Linked DNA regions of Homo sapiens: region 2 is linked to region 1. The links are contacts of gene promoters, found by promoter capture Hi-C in blood cells and fetal thymus (Javierre and others, 2016). All regions are on one chromosome and are shown on one strand. The core of a region is centred on a gene start or on the middle of the fragment in contact, and the rest is flanking DNA. Distances in the headings are between cores, read along the strand shown. Region 1 overlaps RAB11FIP4 (RAB11 family interacting protein 4). Region 2 holds the start of UTP6 (UTP6 small subunit processome component).

Region 1 (7,832 bases), core at 1,882-4,381:
CATTACCTAATGTTAACATTAGCCAAGCAACTGATGCCAACCAATATTAGCCAAGTGAACAAACAACAGCTGACATAAATAGTATTGGAGCTAAAACAAAAAGTCTGGCAAGTTGTTCTCAAACTGAGTTTGTTGGAACCCTCAGGGTTCTGTGGAGACTTCGCAAAAGGGAAGATGTGCTCCAGGGGAACCACAAAAATAGCTCCACTTCTGTCTGCTGTACATGCTGTCTTCTGTATGAAACTTCATGTGAATAAAGGGTTCTATGGCTTTAAAAATATTTAAAATCACTGGTATAGTATAACCATTTCCCAGACAGGGGAATGAGCCCCAGAGGTGGGAAATGGCATCTCCCCTCACAAGTAGCACACTCAGTTAGTGGTGGAGCCAGGAGTAGAGCCAGGTTGCATTACTCTCAGTCTAGTGCTCTCCAAGGTGGACACCAGTCATTAATCAGGACTGTGAGCATCAGTCAAACCTGGTCCATCTTAGCAGGGCTTGATTCTGTCAACGCACACACAGAGGACATTCTTTCTTTACTTTTTTTTTTTTTTTTTTTTTTTTTTTTGAGATGCAGTCTCACTCTGTCACCCGGGCTGGAATGCAATGGCATGATCTCGGCTCACTGCAAACTCCGCCTCCAGGGTTCAAGCGATTCTCCTGCCTCAGCCTCCTGAGTAGCTGGGACTATAGGCGCATGACACCACGCCTGGCTAATTTTTGTATTTTTAGTAGAGACGGGGTTTCACCATGTTGGTCAGGATAGCCTCGAACTCCTGATCCCGTGATCCGCCCGCCTCGGCCTCCCAAAGTGCTGGGATTATGGGTGTGAGCCACTGCCCCCGGCCAGAGGACATTATTTCTGCCCAGCTGGGGCTCTATGTGTGGAAAAGCCCCCCTGGCAGCTGGCTAGGACTTTACCACAAGTACTTGTCCTCTCTCACCTCTCTCTCAGAGGTCCATTGACTCCACGCTCAGGAAGTTCAGCTACAACTCTTAAATCTCAGCTTTCATCCCAGGTGGTAAATTCAGTATTTGATGACTTAAGCAGTGGCTTAGGGAAGGGACTACCAAGCAAATAGGCAGGACTCTGAGACTGCAGAGGCCTCTTGACCCCAAAGGAAAGTCATTCCTAATTTTTTTTCTTTTCTTTTTTTTTTCTTTTTTTTTCTTTTAGAGTCTCCCTCTGTCGCCCAAGCTGGAGTGCAGTGGTGCGATCTTTGCTCACTGCAACCTCTGTCTCCTGGGTTCAGGTGATTCTTGTGCCTCCGCCTCCTGAGTAACTGAGATTACAGGCATATGCCACCACACTTAGCTAACTTTTTGTATTTTTAGTAGAGATGGGGTTTTGCTATGTTGGCCAGGCTAGTCTTGAACTGGCCTCAAGTGATCTGCCTGCCTCGGCCTCCCAAAGTGCTGGGATTACAGGCGTGAGCCACCGCACCTGGCCCCCAATTTTTTATTTAGAAAAAAAATGGGAATGACTCTTGGATCCAAAAGCCCTCTCTCGCCAGTGGGGATGTGTCTAGGGGTCTGCACTAAGCTGGCATCTTCTCTGACCACTCCTTCCTCTGCCTCTTCCCACCAAACCCAGTGAAGATGCAGGAGGCCTGGGTTCTGGGCTCTCCCTAACTTTTTGGGCCTCAGACTCCTCCCCTGGAAGAGCTTTTAGCTGGACAGCACATCTTTAGGTCTCTTCCAATTCTGCAACTCTGTGCCAGCCCAGGAGAGGATCTTGGACTGTGGAAACAAGGTGTTTCCCTTGGCAAACACTCCGGTGTTGGTGACTGTCCACTGGCCGGGATGATTTCACCAGCCTGCCCCCGGGGCTGGGTTCTCTTGTAACATCTGGCTGGATGCTGTGCAGACGGGGTGGGACCTGGTCTTATTGACTCTGGAGCCCAGGTTGAGTCTTCAGAAGCTCCAAGCTCTATTTGTGTCAACCTGTGCATGTATAAACAATGGGTTTTCTTACTCATTCAAGCTCAACGAAAGGGGGAAAATGGTGAGAAAACCAGTGTTTCCTCCCTAACAAACAAGCCCCCTGACTCATTCAGTCATCCAAGAAGAGGAGGTGGCAGGGGAGGAGGAAGTCCAGCAAGGTGTTCTTTTGACTTGAATTGGGTGAGAGCAAGGAGAAAAACTTCGTTTTCCTCTACTCTTGGTAACATCAGAGTTACCCAGACAGCAAAACCCAGGCAGCAAAAACAACTCTCCTTTCCCCAAACACCTCACCCTCCCCACCTCCTCCCAGACTTGGGCAGCACAGAGGTCCCACCCTGCGTGCCACTACCCATGTCTCTGATTGGCTATTAACTCAGCTAGAAGCTTTGTAGGAGTGGACTGCCCTTTTTCAGGAGTGGACAACCCTTTAAAGCAGTGGTTCCTAAACTGCACCGCACATCAGGATCACTTGAAGAACTTAAAAAACGCTTGGAATCACTTGAACCTAAAAAAATGTCAATAACATACCCCATGGCAACCTAATCCGAATGTCACGGTGGAAGCCAGGTGTTGGCAGTTTTTAAAGATCCCAGTGATTCTGATGCAGCAGTTTGGGAACTGCTTTGCTAAAGGCTTGCTGACAACAGTGGGTGCTGACATGATCACAGGTGAAGGGATCGTTTGTTCTTTGATTCCTTCATTCATTCTTTAATTCATTCCTTCATTCTTTCATTCATTCCTTCATTCTTTCAGTCATTCCTTCATTAATTCCTTCATTTGTTCAAAACAGTTAGTGCCAGGCTCTGTTCTAGGTGTTGTAGACACAGCCTTGATCAGTACCAAGTCTTGGTTGATTCTTGTGGAGCTGACATTTTAGTGGGAGAAGTCAGATGATGAAACAATAAATTAATGAGTGACATATATAATATGTGCTCTGAAGAAAAACAAAGCAGGGTATGGGCATAGAGAGACCCTGGAGGCAGGGAGACTATTTTCTTTCTTTTTTTTTTTTTTTTTTTTTTTGAGACGGAGTCTGGAGTCTGGCTCTGTCGCCAGGCTGGAGTGCAGTGGCGTGATCTCGGCTCACTGCAACCTCTGCCTCCTGGGTTCAAGCGATACTCGTGCCTCAGCCTCCCGAGTAGCTGGGATCACAGGCACGTGCCACCACACCCAGCTAATTTTTTTATTTTTAGTAGAGAGAGGGTTTCACCATGTTGGCCAGGGTGGTCTCGATCTCCTGACCTAAAGCGATCCACCCACCTCGGCCTCAAAGTGGTGGGATTACAGGCGTGAGCCACCGCACCCGGCCAGGGGGACTATTTTCACTATGGATTTAGGCACCAATTTTTGCTTCAGGAAAGGGTGGCTGTGCACTTGCCTGCTACTCCAGACTTTATCATTTATCCACTCTCTGGCCAAAACAGCCTTTCTTGACCATGCTCAATGTCCTACCTGCTGCCTCCCTGCTTGCCTCTTTCTCATAAGCTCCTCCTTCAGGGCCGAGGCCTGGCATCCTGGCACACAATGTTCTCGCTCCTCCTCCTCCCCAACTGTCAGCAGTAACATCTGACAGGGGCCTGAGTGAGGCAGTAATCTGTCAAGGATCATTTATGTGCAGCCGCCGAGGGCTTGTGGGGTGAGAGGCCGTGTGGAGCAGTGGAGAAACAGTGGAACTCAGGGCCAGAAGACCTGGATTTGAGGCCTGGATCTGCCACATATTGGCTAAAGGCAAGTAACTTCACCGAGCCTCAGTTTCCTCCTCAGTCAAATGGAGAGAGTACAACCAACTTTGTAAGACTGGGAGATGCGTTAGAAGAGAAAAAGTCAAAGACTTTTGCCCCGTGTTTTGCAAATATGAGGACTTTAAAACAATTATCTAGGCCTATATAAACATGAAATCACAATGCATTAAAGCTGGAAGGGATCCCATTTCACCAATGGGAAACAGGCCGAGAGAGAAGAAATGACTTACCTATAGTCACAAAGCTTGCTAACGGCAGATGGACCCACACCAATCCTAGAAAAGGGAGGTGGTTGGGAGTAGAGTAGGTATGCTGTTTTTAGTACCAAACTTTTGGCCTCCTCTGTCCACCAGGCAAACTCCTATTCATCCTTCAAAACTCCACCCAGGTATGATTTCCCAGGTGATGCCTTCCCTGTCTTCTCCAGTGATAATAAATTATTCCTTGGCTTCATGATGTCTATGCCTCAATCACAAGCTGTGTTACTAAGAGGAACACACTGAATTGTCAGGATTGGCCTCCTGTCAGGTCCCCTACCATTCTGCAATTCCTGAGGACAGGGTCCATGCCCCTGGTGTCTTTGGACTTAAGCTCCTAACATGTCTGGCACACAGTAATCACCTGGGGAATGGTTAGGGCCCTGAATGGGACTGAGAATCCCTCACCCACAGACAATGGAAAGCTGAGGACTTGATTTTTGAATTAGCGGAAGCCTTTTCTGAAGTTCCTGAGATGGGCATTTGAAAGGTGAGAGACCTTCTCAAGTCAGGCTGCCCTCTTCCCAGACACATCAGATCTCAACTCTGAAGAAACAATTCCTCTACCTAATGGGAACCTTGGACAAGGGCCCTGAAACCAAGGAGAGAACATTTCCCTGCAGCCTATTGTTGATAACAGCTATGTACTATGTGCCAGCCACTTCATTTCTTAATTTAATCCAACAATCTTGTAGAGTAGATGTTACTGCACTCATGAAACAAATAAGGAAACTGAGGCTCAAGAGGATTAAGTGGTGGCAGAGACAAGATTTGTACCCAGATCTGGCCCACGTTCAGGACTCCCTTCTGCCTCTCTTGTTGCATCACTGGCTTACTTACAGCAACCGGAATTGCCTGGGAAGCAGCAGAAACTAATTGGTAAGGATGATTGAAGACCATGAGCAATTAAAGGCCTCAAGTTCCTCTTCATCATCCTTGGGTTGCAGGTGTCTGCTGTCCAGCTCAGCAGTGTCTCAGTCAGTGGCAGCCCACATCAGGTGTCTATGATTTGCCACATGCACCTCTGCAGTCCTACCTGCTGGCTTAGAGCTGAGGACTGGCCACTACCTGCTGTTGACTTGGCTGCTGCCTCCTGCCCCAGTTCTAAGCCCAGGGAGATGCATCCTGCCATTTCCCTGGCTGCTACCAGATAAGCTAAGCAGTATGAGGCCAGGGCTCCAGGGAGGGAGGGAAGGAAGCAGTATTTGTTGTCTTCAAAGACGTGTTTTGTGGAAACCCCATCCCACTCTGATAGCAAGAAATTGATCTGTGGTCAAATCAGCCGGTGAAATTCTTCACTCCCTCTTGAAGATGTCACAGGCACCTCTGCAGGAGAGAAGCCTCCCTAGCTTTTAACCCCAGGCTTCCTTAAGGCAACTGGGCTTGGACAGGACCCTTCTTATTTAACATTTAACAACACAAGGGATCAGTGTTCTGAGAAGAGCACACCTGGGCAAACAATGCACCAGGCTCCCAACACGCGCGGAAGGCAGACGTTATGTTCATCTTAAAGGTATTTACAGCTGGCCAGGCACGGTGGCTCATGCCTGTAATCCCAGCACTTTGGGAGACCAAGGCGGGTGAATCATTTGAGGTCAAGAGTTCGAGACCAGCCTGGCCAACATAGTGAAACCCCGTCTCTACTAAAAATACAAAAATTAGCCAGGTGTGGTGGTGGTCGCCTATAATCCCAGCTACTCAGGAAGCTGAGGCAGGGGAATCGCTTGAACCCAGGAGGTGGAGGTTGCAGTGAGCCGAGATCTAGCCACTGCACTCCAGCCTGGGTGACAGAGACTCTGTCTCAAAAAAAAAAAAAAAAAAGTATTAACAGCAAATGGCCACATAGCACTTAATATATACAAGCTCCGTTCTAGTGCTTCACATGATATGAGCTCATTTAATCCTCCCGACAACCCTACGAGGCAGGTATTATCCCCATTTTACAGATGGGGAAACTGAGGCTCAGAGAGGTTACTCAAGGACATACAGCTAGTAAGTTGAGAGCCAGGAGTCAAACCCAGGCAGCCTGGCTCCAGAGACTGTGCACCTAGCCGTTATCCTATGTAAAAAAGAGAGGCTCGGTTTTGTATAATAAAATAACTTCCCCAAAGTAACCATCATAGAACCAAGACCATTCATTCATTCACCCCGTCATTCATTTACTCAAACAAGAATCACTGAGCAGAAACCGCAGGCCAGACCTAGTGCTGGCCACCCAGAGACCAAGGAAGAACAAGGTGCAGCCTTGCTGTGGACCTGCCGGCTGCCTGTCCAGGCGCCTCTGACGCCCGCGCTGCTCTTCTCCCCACAGCTTGTCTGGGGACCTGGGGCTCTGCTGTCAGCTTCGCACCCTCCCAGCCGTGGCTTCTCATCTATATCTGATGGGTCAAGGAGGGTGGGCGGGGAGCACCCAGCTTCTCCCCAAGCCCAGGCTCCTTCCTCAGCCCCACAGGGGAGCACTGAGCCCCCCACCAGGTAAGTGCCCCCTCCTCACAGTCGTGTGGTTGCTCCCTGCCTGAGGAACACTCCAGGTGGCAGCCATTAGTCTCAGATTTAGCGGCCTCCTGAGAGGCGGGATGACAGTGGACGATGACGACTCTGAGTCTGTTCTGGGGTTGGAAGGACACACACTGAAGGGCTTGTAACTCCACTCTGAAAGCAGAGTCCCCCGCAATTGTCTCCTAAATTATCTCAGTGATGCTGGGATGAAGAAGTATCCCAAACCACAACACGCAAGCTACCCCACAAAAGACAGAAGAAGGGCTGCAGACTCTGCCCTGTGGAGAAGGTGGTGGGGCTGGGGAGAGGGCGGCTCCCTGGGGCCTGCCCAAGTTTATCCCCTGAATAAACAGGAGGCCACAGCAGACCGGATGGGCTGGTGTCGGGAGACTGGCTGGCCTCCGTGCTCAGTCACAGATGCCTCCTTTGTGCCTCCCCTGCCAGGGCTGGGCTGGGCAAAGGAAAACCAAAGGTGCCCGGCCTCTGGACACGGAGCCACTGTTCCACCCACTTAGGGGAAAACCACGGCCCAGCAACAGCTCTGTGGCTGCAGCCCAGGAGGGCTGAAGGAGCTTCTGTGTTCACGTAGAAACTGGAGAGGCCAGTGCAGTGGGGAGGCAGGCTGCTCATGGGGTGCCCTAAAAAAGAAACCTTTCTTCCAGGCCAGGTCCCCTGTGGTCCCCACTGGATCACAAGGCCACATTCATGGGGTGAAGCCCCCTAGTGCCCCACCAGCCCAGGTTTCAGCCCCAGCTCTGCTATTACTACCTGTAGCTCGTCTAGTCTCTTAGCCTTGGTTTCTTATGTGACCAACAGAGTTAATAGTACACACGAGGCCAGGCACGGTGGCTCACACCTATAATCCCAGCACTTTGGGAGCCCGAGGTGGGTGGATCCCTTGAGGTTAGGAGTTTGAGACCAGCCTGGCCAACATGGTGAAATCCCGTCTCTACTAAAAATACAAACATTAGCTGGGCGTGATGGCACGTGCCTGTAATCCCAGCTACTTGGGAGGCTGAGGCAGGAGAATCACTTGAACCCAGGAGGCAGACATTGCAGTGAGCCAAGATTGCACCACTGCACTCCAGCCTGGGTGACAGAGGAGGACACCGTATCAAAAAAAAAAAAAAAAAAAAAAAAAAAAAAGTTCAGTCGATTCTCATTATTTGCAGTAGTTATGCTCTATGAAGTCACTACAAACACAGAATCGTGAATACTGAACCATTGCCCCTAGGGGAAATACTGGTTCAATTCCTGTGAGCCTCTGATCACAACATTTTCATCAAACGATCAATGCATAACCTTGTTTTAAGCATGTCTCTGTTTAAAGACACTATATTTAATACATATTGTTGATTCATTAACATTGAACTCACTGTAGCTCATGCCT
Region 2 (7,832 bases), core at 2,076-4,575, 420 kb before region 1:
AGATGTGAGCCACTGCGCCTGGCCCATCATAATAATTCTTGAAGGTAAATATAAAAGCTAGGCAGGGCGGGGTGGCTCACATCCCAGCACTTTGGGAGGTGGAGGCGGGTGGATCGATCACAAGGTCAGGAGTTCCAGACCAGCCTGGCCAACATGGTGAAACCCCGTCTCTACCAAAAATACAAAAATTAGCTGGGCGTGGTGGCGTGCGCCTGTAGTCCCAGCTACTCAGGTGGCTGAGGCAGGAGAATCGTTTAAACGGGAAGGCGGGGGTTGCAGTGAGCCGAGATCATGCCACTGCCCTCCAGCCTGGGCAACAAACTGACACTCCGTCTCAACAACAACAACAACAACAACAACAAGAATATATACATAAACGCTAAATTTTGGCCAGGCGTGGTGGCTCATGCCTGTAATCCCAGCACTTTGGGAGGCCGAGGTGGGCGGATCACCTGAGGTTAGGAGTTCGAGACCAGCTTAGCCAACATAGTGAAACTCCGTCTCTACTAAAAAGACAATAATTAGCTGGTCGTGGTGGTGGGCGCCTGTAATCCCAGCTACTCGGGAGGCTGAGGCAGGAGAATCACTAGAATCTGGGAGGCTGAGGTTGCAGTGAGCCAAGATCACGCCACTACACTCCAGCCTGGGCAACAAGAGCAAAACTCCATCTCAAAAAAAAAAAAGCTAAATTTCAAAATAAGGGAGGATCGCTGGGCGTGCTGGCTTATGCCTGTAATCCCAGAATTTTGAGAAGGGGAAACAAGATGATCACTTGAGGCCAGGAGTTCAAGACCATGGTGACAATACAGTGAGACCCTGTCTCTATTTACAAAAACAAAAACACCATCCTCGGCAACATAGTGAGACCCCTGTCTCTACAAAAAAGAAAAAAGGAAAATTAGCCAGGTGCGGTGGGGCACACATGTAGTCCCAGCTACTTGGGAGGCGGGGGTGGGAGCATTGCTGGAGCTCAGGAGGTTGAGGCTGCAGTGAGCTGTGGTCACACCACTGCACTCCAGCCTGGGTAATATAGTAAGACCCTGTCTCAAAACAAAACAAAAACGTAATTAGGCCGGGCATGGTGGCTCACGCCTGTCATCCCAGCTACTCGGGGGATCGCTTGAACCCAGGAGGTGGAGGTTGCAGTGAGCCGAGAGCGCACCACTGCACTCCCCATTAGGCAACAGAGAGAGGCCACCAGGCCCAGCTAATTTTTTTGTATTTTTAGTGGAGACGGGGTTTCTCCATGTTGGCCACGCTGGTCTTGAATTCCTGACCTCAGGTTATCCGTGGCCTCGGCCTCCCAAAGTGCTGTGATGACAGGTGTGAGCCACAGTGCCTGGCCAGCGAGGCTCGGTCTTAAAAAGAACAACAAAACAAAACAAAACAATATAAAGGAGGAGCGTATTTATAGTTAGTTTGATTTAAAAATTGGGCGGGCGCGTTGGCTCACGCCTGGAGTCCCAGCACTTTGGGATGCTGAGGCGGGTGGATCATGAGGTCAGGAGATTGAGACCATCCTGGCCAACATGATGAAAACCTGTATGTACGAAAAACACAAAAATTAATTGGGTGTGGTGGCACGTGCCTGTAGTCCCAGCTACTCGGGCGGCTGAGGCAGGAGAATCCTTTGAACCAGGGGAGTCGAGGTTGTGGTGAGCCGAGATCGCGCCACTGCACTCCAGCCTGGTGACAGAGCGAGACTCTGTCTCTAAATAAATAAATAAAATAAAATAAAATAAAAATCATGGTTAATTTATGAAGGTCTCTATCAAATTTACTTTGAAATGATTACAGTCTGTCATAACTTGCTGACTTCCTTGTACCTAAAGAAATTTAGCAAGTACCTTTTCTTAGTGTCATGCATTTATTAACTGAGTACTTATTATATGGTAGGCACTGCTATAAGCTGTAGAGTATCTAGCCAGTCAAAAAGGAAAAAATTCCCTGCCCATATGGAGTTTACTATCTAGTGTCATCTCCACTCTTACTGTTAACACAGCCCCAGAGATTTTACTTTTACAAATAAATTCTATCTTTGTCTTACATTCGTGATTTCCTTCCACTTCTGACATGTCTTACAGCTGAAGGATTCAAGAAATGGTGTAGCACAAGCCAACCCTCGTCTCAGTTCTGAGATGAGTGGGTAAAATGTGAAAGGAAAGAAAGAAATGCAAGGCACAGAGGTGGAACATGGTTTTGCTGAGCCCATTCTCCTTTCATAAATCACACACAGGATCCAGGTGCTAATGTGAATGTTGAAATAAGCAGATTTAGCAAGAACTGCTGCTTTGGCTTTTTTATATCCAGAACTAAAAAAGAACTGAACCATGTAGTTATCATTTGAGGTTTACTAACTATACCAGCAATATTGCCTCCAAGCTGTGTTGCCTGGTGTTTCTCTTAGAAATGCTAAGTTGCTTGGGCAATGGTTTAAGGAGGGTGTCTATACCTTAGTGATTTATTTTGGTAATTCTCAAACTTTTCAATACAAAAATCTCCTTTTCTAAAAAGAATTTATAGTGTCTGATATTCACCTAGGGACATATATTTTGAAAGCTATTGCTTACAAAGACAGGATATTGATTTAAATAATAAACAATTCTATTTTATTTATTTATTTATTTAGAGACGGAGTTTCACTCTTGTTGCCCAAGCTGGAGTGCAATGGCGCGATCTCGGCCTCCCAGGTTCAAGCGATTCTCCTGCCTCAGCCTCCCGAGTAGCTGGGATTACAGGCGCGTGCCAGCACGCCCAGTTAATTTTTTTGCATTTTTAGTAGAAACGGGGTTTCATCATGTTAGCCAGGATGGTCTCGAACTCCTGACTTCAGGTGATCTGCCCGCCTCGGCCTCCTAAACTGCTGGGATTACAGGCATGAGCCACCGCGACCGGCTTTCAAAAATGTTTAATTGTACAATATCCTCCTCCTTTGCTTTTTTTTTTGTTGTTGTTCTTGGTGTTGGGAAGTCAGGACGTGGGATGGGAGACAATATTCTGAAGAAAATGCATCTCGTGTCCCTTTCAGGCTTGAGCAGCCCACCTCTCTACACCTGGAGGCGCTTTTCCTGATGGCTGTCCAAGTCTAGCGGCGCGCGCACTTAACCCCTCCCTCCCGTCTAGCCCCGCCCCTCAACTCCTGTCCGCTAGAGTCGTCCTGCCCAAGACCAGGGCGGGTTCTCGCTGCAATCCCACAATCGGCCACAGGGAGGGGACGGTGGCTGTAGAAGCCGAAGGGCCTTCCCCTAAGTAGGAGGTGGCGGAAGCGGAAAAGGCGGGACCTAGGGAGCACGTTACGTCCGGACGCGTCGGTGGTAGGGCTGGGTCTCCGAACCTGAAACCGGGAGCTTCCTGCTCGTGTTCGCTGTTGAGAAGCTACCCGCGGGGTTGTAGACCTCGGACCTCATGGCAGAGATAATTCAGGAACGCATAGAAGATCGGCTCCCGGAATTGGAACAGCTGGAGCGCATTGGACTGTTCAGTCATGCGGAGATTAAGTGAGAGAGGGTTGGGGAGAGGGAAGAGCTGAGGCGGCCTGAGGGGAGGTTGGGAGTGTGTGGCAGGGGCTAGATGTGGGGACGCTCGACCTGTGTTTACTTTTCCTAACGTGGTGGAAGCCCATTTCTCGTTTTCGGTGATGTCCAGAATTAATTTTTCATTCGTTGCAAGGTAATCCGTCCGTCTACTTACCCATCAGACGTTTTGACAGCCCTTCATGGAGCCGGGTCTTAGGGCTGTAAAGGTGATAAACCCAGGATTCCTGCTCATTAGGAGCTAATTGGGCAGAGTGTGGTGGGGGAGACAGACAAATTAAATATTTTGATAACAGTGTACTGTAAGTTGATTGTAGTACCTTGTACTGCTGTAGGGATGGGAACAGAGTGCTGTGAGAGCCCAGGGGGAGTGGATAAATTCCTAACTAGACTTGAAGGTGGGGACCATTGAAATCAGTTTCATATGCTACTCCAGAGCCTAACTACAGCGCCTGGCACATGGTAGACATTCAGTAGCGTGTTAAAATTATGTTTAATAGTTTTTAATGGTTTCTGTGACTGTTGCTTTGTTTTGCAACGTCTGAATGTAGTAATGTGACTCAGAGCTTCAAAGTAAGCATTCGTTAATGAAACACAAAACAAAGCAGTGTGGACGCTTAGAAAGTGCTCAGTTAAGGTTAATGTTACCATTACTAAAGACACCTGTCTTGCACATCTTGCATTAAATTCTCCTAATATATATTTGTCATATGTTCATTCCTTAGCTAAGGACTCTGAATCTTCTCCCGTAAGTCCTTCGTAGTAATAAGTCTTTTAAGGCAGACGCAATTTAGATTTTTAAAAAAATTTACATGTTGAGAACTCAGAAATAAGAGGAATTTCGGAAAGAAATTTATTATTAAAATTTAAGTGACCTGAACTTGGAGTAAAAGAAGTCTTTATTAATACCAGCCAGGCGCTGTGGCTCACGCCTGTAATCCCAGCACTTTGGGAGGCCGAGGTGGGTGGATCACGAGGTCAGGAGTTCGAGACCAGCCTGGCCAATATGGTGAAACCCCGTCTCTACTAAAAATACAAAAATTAGCTGAGCGTGGTGGTGAGCGCCTGTAGTCCCAGCTACTCGGGAGTCTGAGGCAGGAGAATCGCTTGAACTCGGGAGGCCGAGGTTGTAGTGAGCCAAGATCATGCCACTGCACTCCAGCCTGGGCGACAGAGCGAGAAAAAAACAAACAAAAAAAACACCATACATAAATGGTATAAAGTTCTTAATTGTATTTGCTTTGCTGGTGGGAATGTCATTGGTTTTGGGAGTTGATTAAGATGATTTTCCTGAAAGTTTAAAAATGAACCCTTAAGAACACAAAAGTAATTGTGTAAGAGAATACTTTTTTTTTTTGAGATGGAGTCTTGCTCTGTCGCCAGGCCAGAGGGCAGTGGCGCGATCTCGGCTTACTGCAACCTCCGCCTTCCAGGTTCAAGCAATTTTCCTGCCTCAGTCTCCCGAGTAGCTGGGACTACAGGCACGCACCACCACGCCCAGCTAATTTTTGTATTTTTAGTAGAGATGCAGTTTTACCATGTTGACCAGGGTGGTCTCAGTCTCTTGACCTCTTGATCTACCCGCCTCAGCCTCCCAAAGTGCTGGGATTCCAGGCATGAGCCACTGTGTCCGGCCGATAATACTTTCTTATGAAAGATAACTCTAGGAATTTCGTATTTTGAAAAACATGTTTTAAATATATTCAAAATAAACTTAAACGTTTAATTTTTGCAGTTTTCAAGTGAAGTTTAAATGGCTTTCTCCTCAGGGCTATCATTAAGAAGGCTTCCGATCTAGAGTACAAAATCCAGAGAAGAACCCTTTTCAAGGAAGACTTTATCAATTATGTTCAAGTAAGTGTGTAATTAATAATTTCTTTCTTTTTTTCTTTTTTGTTTTTTGGTGAGATGGCATCTCACTCTGTCACCCAGGTTGGAGTGCAGTGGTGTGAATGGTGTGATCTCTGCTCACTGCAACCTCTGCCCTCCAGGCTCAAGCGATTCTCCTACCTCAGCCTCCTGGGTAGCTGGGACCATAGATGCATGCCACCATGCCTGGCTAATTTTTTGGTAGAGACTGGGTTTTGCCACATTGCCCAGGCTGATCTCAAGGGATCCACCCACCTTGGCCTCTCAAAGTGCTGGGCTTACAGGTGTGAACCACAGTGCCCGGCCAATAATTAATAATTTCATTACTTTTTTTTGAGGCAGGGGCTCGCCTTTCACCCAGGCTGAAGTGCAGTGGTGCCATCATGGCTCAGTGTAGCTTCCACCTCCTGAGCTGAAGCCATCCTCCCACCTCAGCCTCTGGAGTAGCTGGGACTACAGGTGTGTGCCAGTATGGCTGGCTAGCTTTTGTGTTTTTTGTAGAGACAGGGTTTCGGCATGTTGCCCACGCCCAAAATGCTGGGATTACAAGTGTTTGTGAGCCACCGGGCCCAGCCTTACTTTTTTTATTTTTGTTTTTGAGACAAGAGTCTTGCTCTGTCACCCAGGCTGGAGTGCAGTGGCGCGATCTTGGCTCACTGCAACCACTGCCTTCCGGGTTCTAGTGATTCTCAAGTCTCATCCTCCTCAGTAACTGGGATTACAGGCGTATGGCACCGCACCCAGCTACTTTTAGTAGAGACTGGGTTTTGCCATGTTGGCTAGGCTGGTCTCGAACTCCTGGCCTCAAGCAATCCACCAGCATCGGCCTCCCAAAGCGAGTGCTATGATTACAGGCATGAGGCATCATGCTCGGTCCTAGCCTTACTTTTTAATCCCTTCACAAATTGATTGATTGGTTGATTAATTGAAATAGAGTCTCTCTGTGTCACCCAGGCTGGAGTGCAGTTGCACAGTCTCTGCTCACGCTCACCGCAACCTCCGCCTCCTGGGTTCAAGTGATTCTCCTGCCTCAGCCTCCCATTCCTTCACAAATTTAAAATCAGTTCTAGAATGATGAGCTTAACATCAAATTTTTTTTTTTTTTGAGATGGAGTTTCACTCTTATTGCCCAGGCTGGAGTGCAGTGGTGCGATCTCGGCTCACTGCAACCTCCGCTTCCTGGGTTCAAGCAGTTATCTGCCTCAGCCTCCTGAGTAGCTGGGATTACAGGTGCCCACAACCACGCCAGGCTAATTTTTGTAGAGACAGCGTTTCACCATCTTGACCAGGCTGGTCTTGAACTCCTGACCTGGTGATCCACCCGCCTCGGCCTCCCAAAGTGCTGGAATTACAGGCATGAGCCACCACGCCCGGCCAACATCAGTTTTTTAAAAAAATTAAAAGAATTCCAGAAACGTTCATTAGATAGATATTTCTGAACAGGAGTAGCATTGGGAGTAGCATTACTCCACTAAGACTGTAGTCCTGGCCAAACTGAACTTACTTTTCCCCTCCTCTTTCTCTCTTGTCGTTTTCTTTCTTTTTTTTTTCTACTGGGTTTGTAGATCAGAGATTGTCAGAGACATAGTGTGTATCAGGACTTCAGCAAGAGATTTGCCTCTTGGTGAGCAAGATAGAGGAGAGTGAATGTGATGAGTGTAGAGAATTGAAAAGTTACTGCTTGTTTATCTATTGTCTGTCCACTTGGAAAGAGGTGTACTGCAAGATTTTTTCATCTTGTAAATGCATGGAAGGTTTGAATAAAGAAAAATTATGTCAGACCAATTTTCCAGTGGGGGAGAATAGCTAATATGTTGGATGACGGAATCAGGATTCAGAAAGAACCAATAACAAGATCACATGTTTATAAGACTAGAAGTTTTGGTTGGGCATGGTGGCTCATGCTGTAATACCAGCACTTTGGGAGGCTGAGGCAGGCAGATCACCTGTGGTCAGGAGTTCGAGACCAGCCTGGCCAACATGGTGAAACCCCCATCTCTACTAAAAATACAAAAATTAGCCGGGTGTGGTGTTGGGTGCCTGTAATCCTAGCTACTCAGGGGCTGAGGCAGGAGAATTGCTTGAACCCAGGAGGTGGAGGTTGCAGTGAGCCAAGATTGTGCCATTGCACTCCCAGCCTGGGAGACAAGAGCGAAACTCCATCTCAAAAAAAAAAAAAAAAAAAAAGACTAGAAGTTTTGAGCTTAGATTTAAAAAGACAAAAGACAGCCGAACAAACAATATATGAACCTTGGCTAAGCTATTGTTTTTGGAAGAGGTCCTATGAGTAGATTGCTCACTCAAAATGAGCCAAGACCATATTATGTCAAAAATAGATTTTTTTTTTTCCAAATAATACACTCACTCTTGCCCAGGCTGGAGTGCAATGGTGCGAGCACTCATTGCAGCCTCGAACTTCTAGGCTCAGAT

Evidence for each region. Contacts are between HindIII fragments. The CHiCAGO score rates a contact against its expected background, and 5 or more counts as called.
Region 2: the fragment with the promoter of UTP6 here is called in contact with a fragment that was not itself captured in region 1 in 2 of 17 cell types (neutrophils and naive B cells); the score reaches 9.8 in neutrophils.

What each region holds. Positions count from the first base shown.
Region 1 is chr17:31,475,929-31,483,760 of GRCh38, reverse strand. All of the region lies in intron 3 of RAB11FIP4 (RAB11 family interacting protein 4), which reads right to left. Among named protein-coding and RNA genes, the nearest start is that of MIR4724, 55 kb to the left of the region's middle. RefSeq lists an enhancer at 6,618-7,434. The HindIII fragment of the contact is 1,602 bases long and covers 2,331-3,932 here.
Region 2 is chr17:31,897,201-31,905,032 of GRCh38, reverse strand. It overlaps UTP6 (UTP6 small subunit processome component), which reads left to right and starts at 3,325. Exons shown (of 19, transcript NM_018428.3): 1 at 3,325-3,497; 2 at 5,303-5,387. The coding sequence starts at 3,406. RefSeq lists enhancers at 3,331-3,380, 3,066-3,657, 3,701-3,850. The HindIII fragment of the contact is 12,725 bases long and covers 1-7,832 here.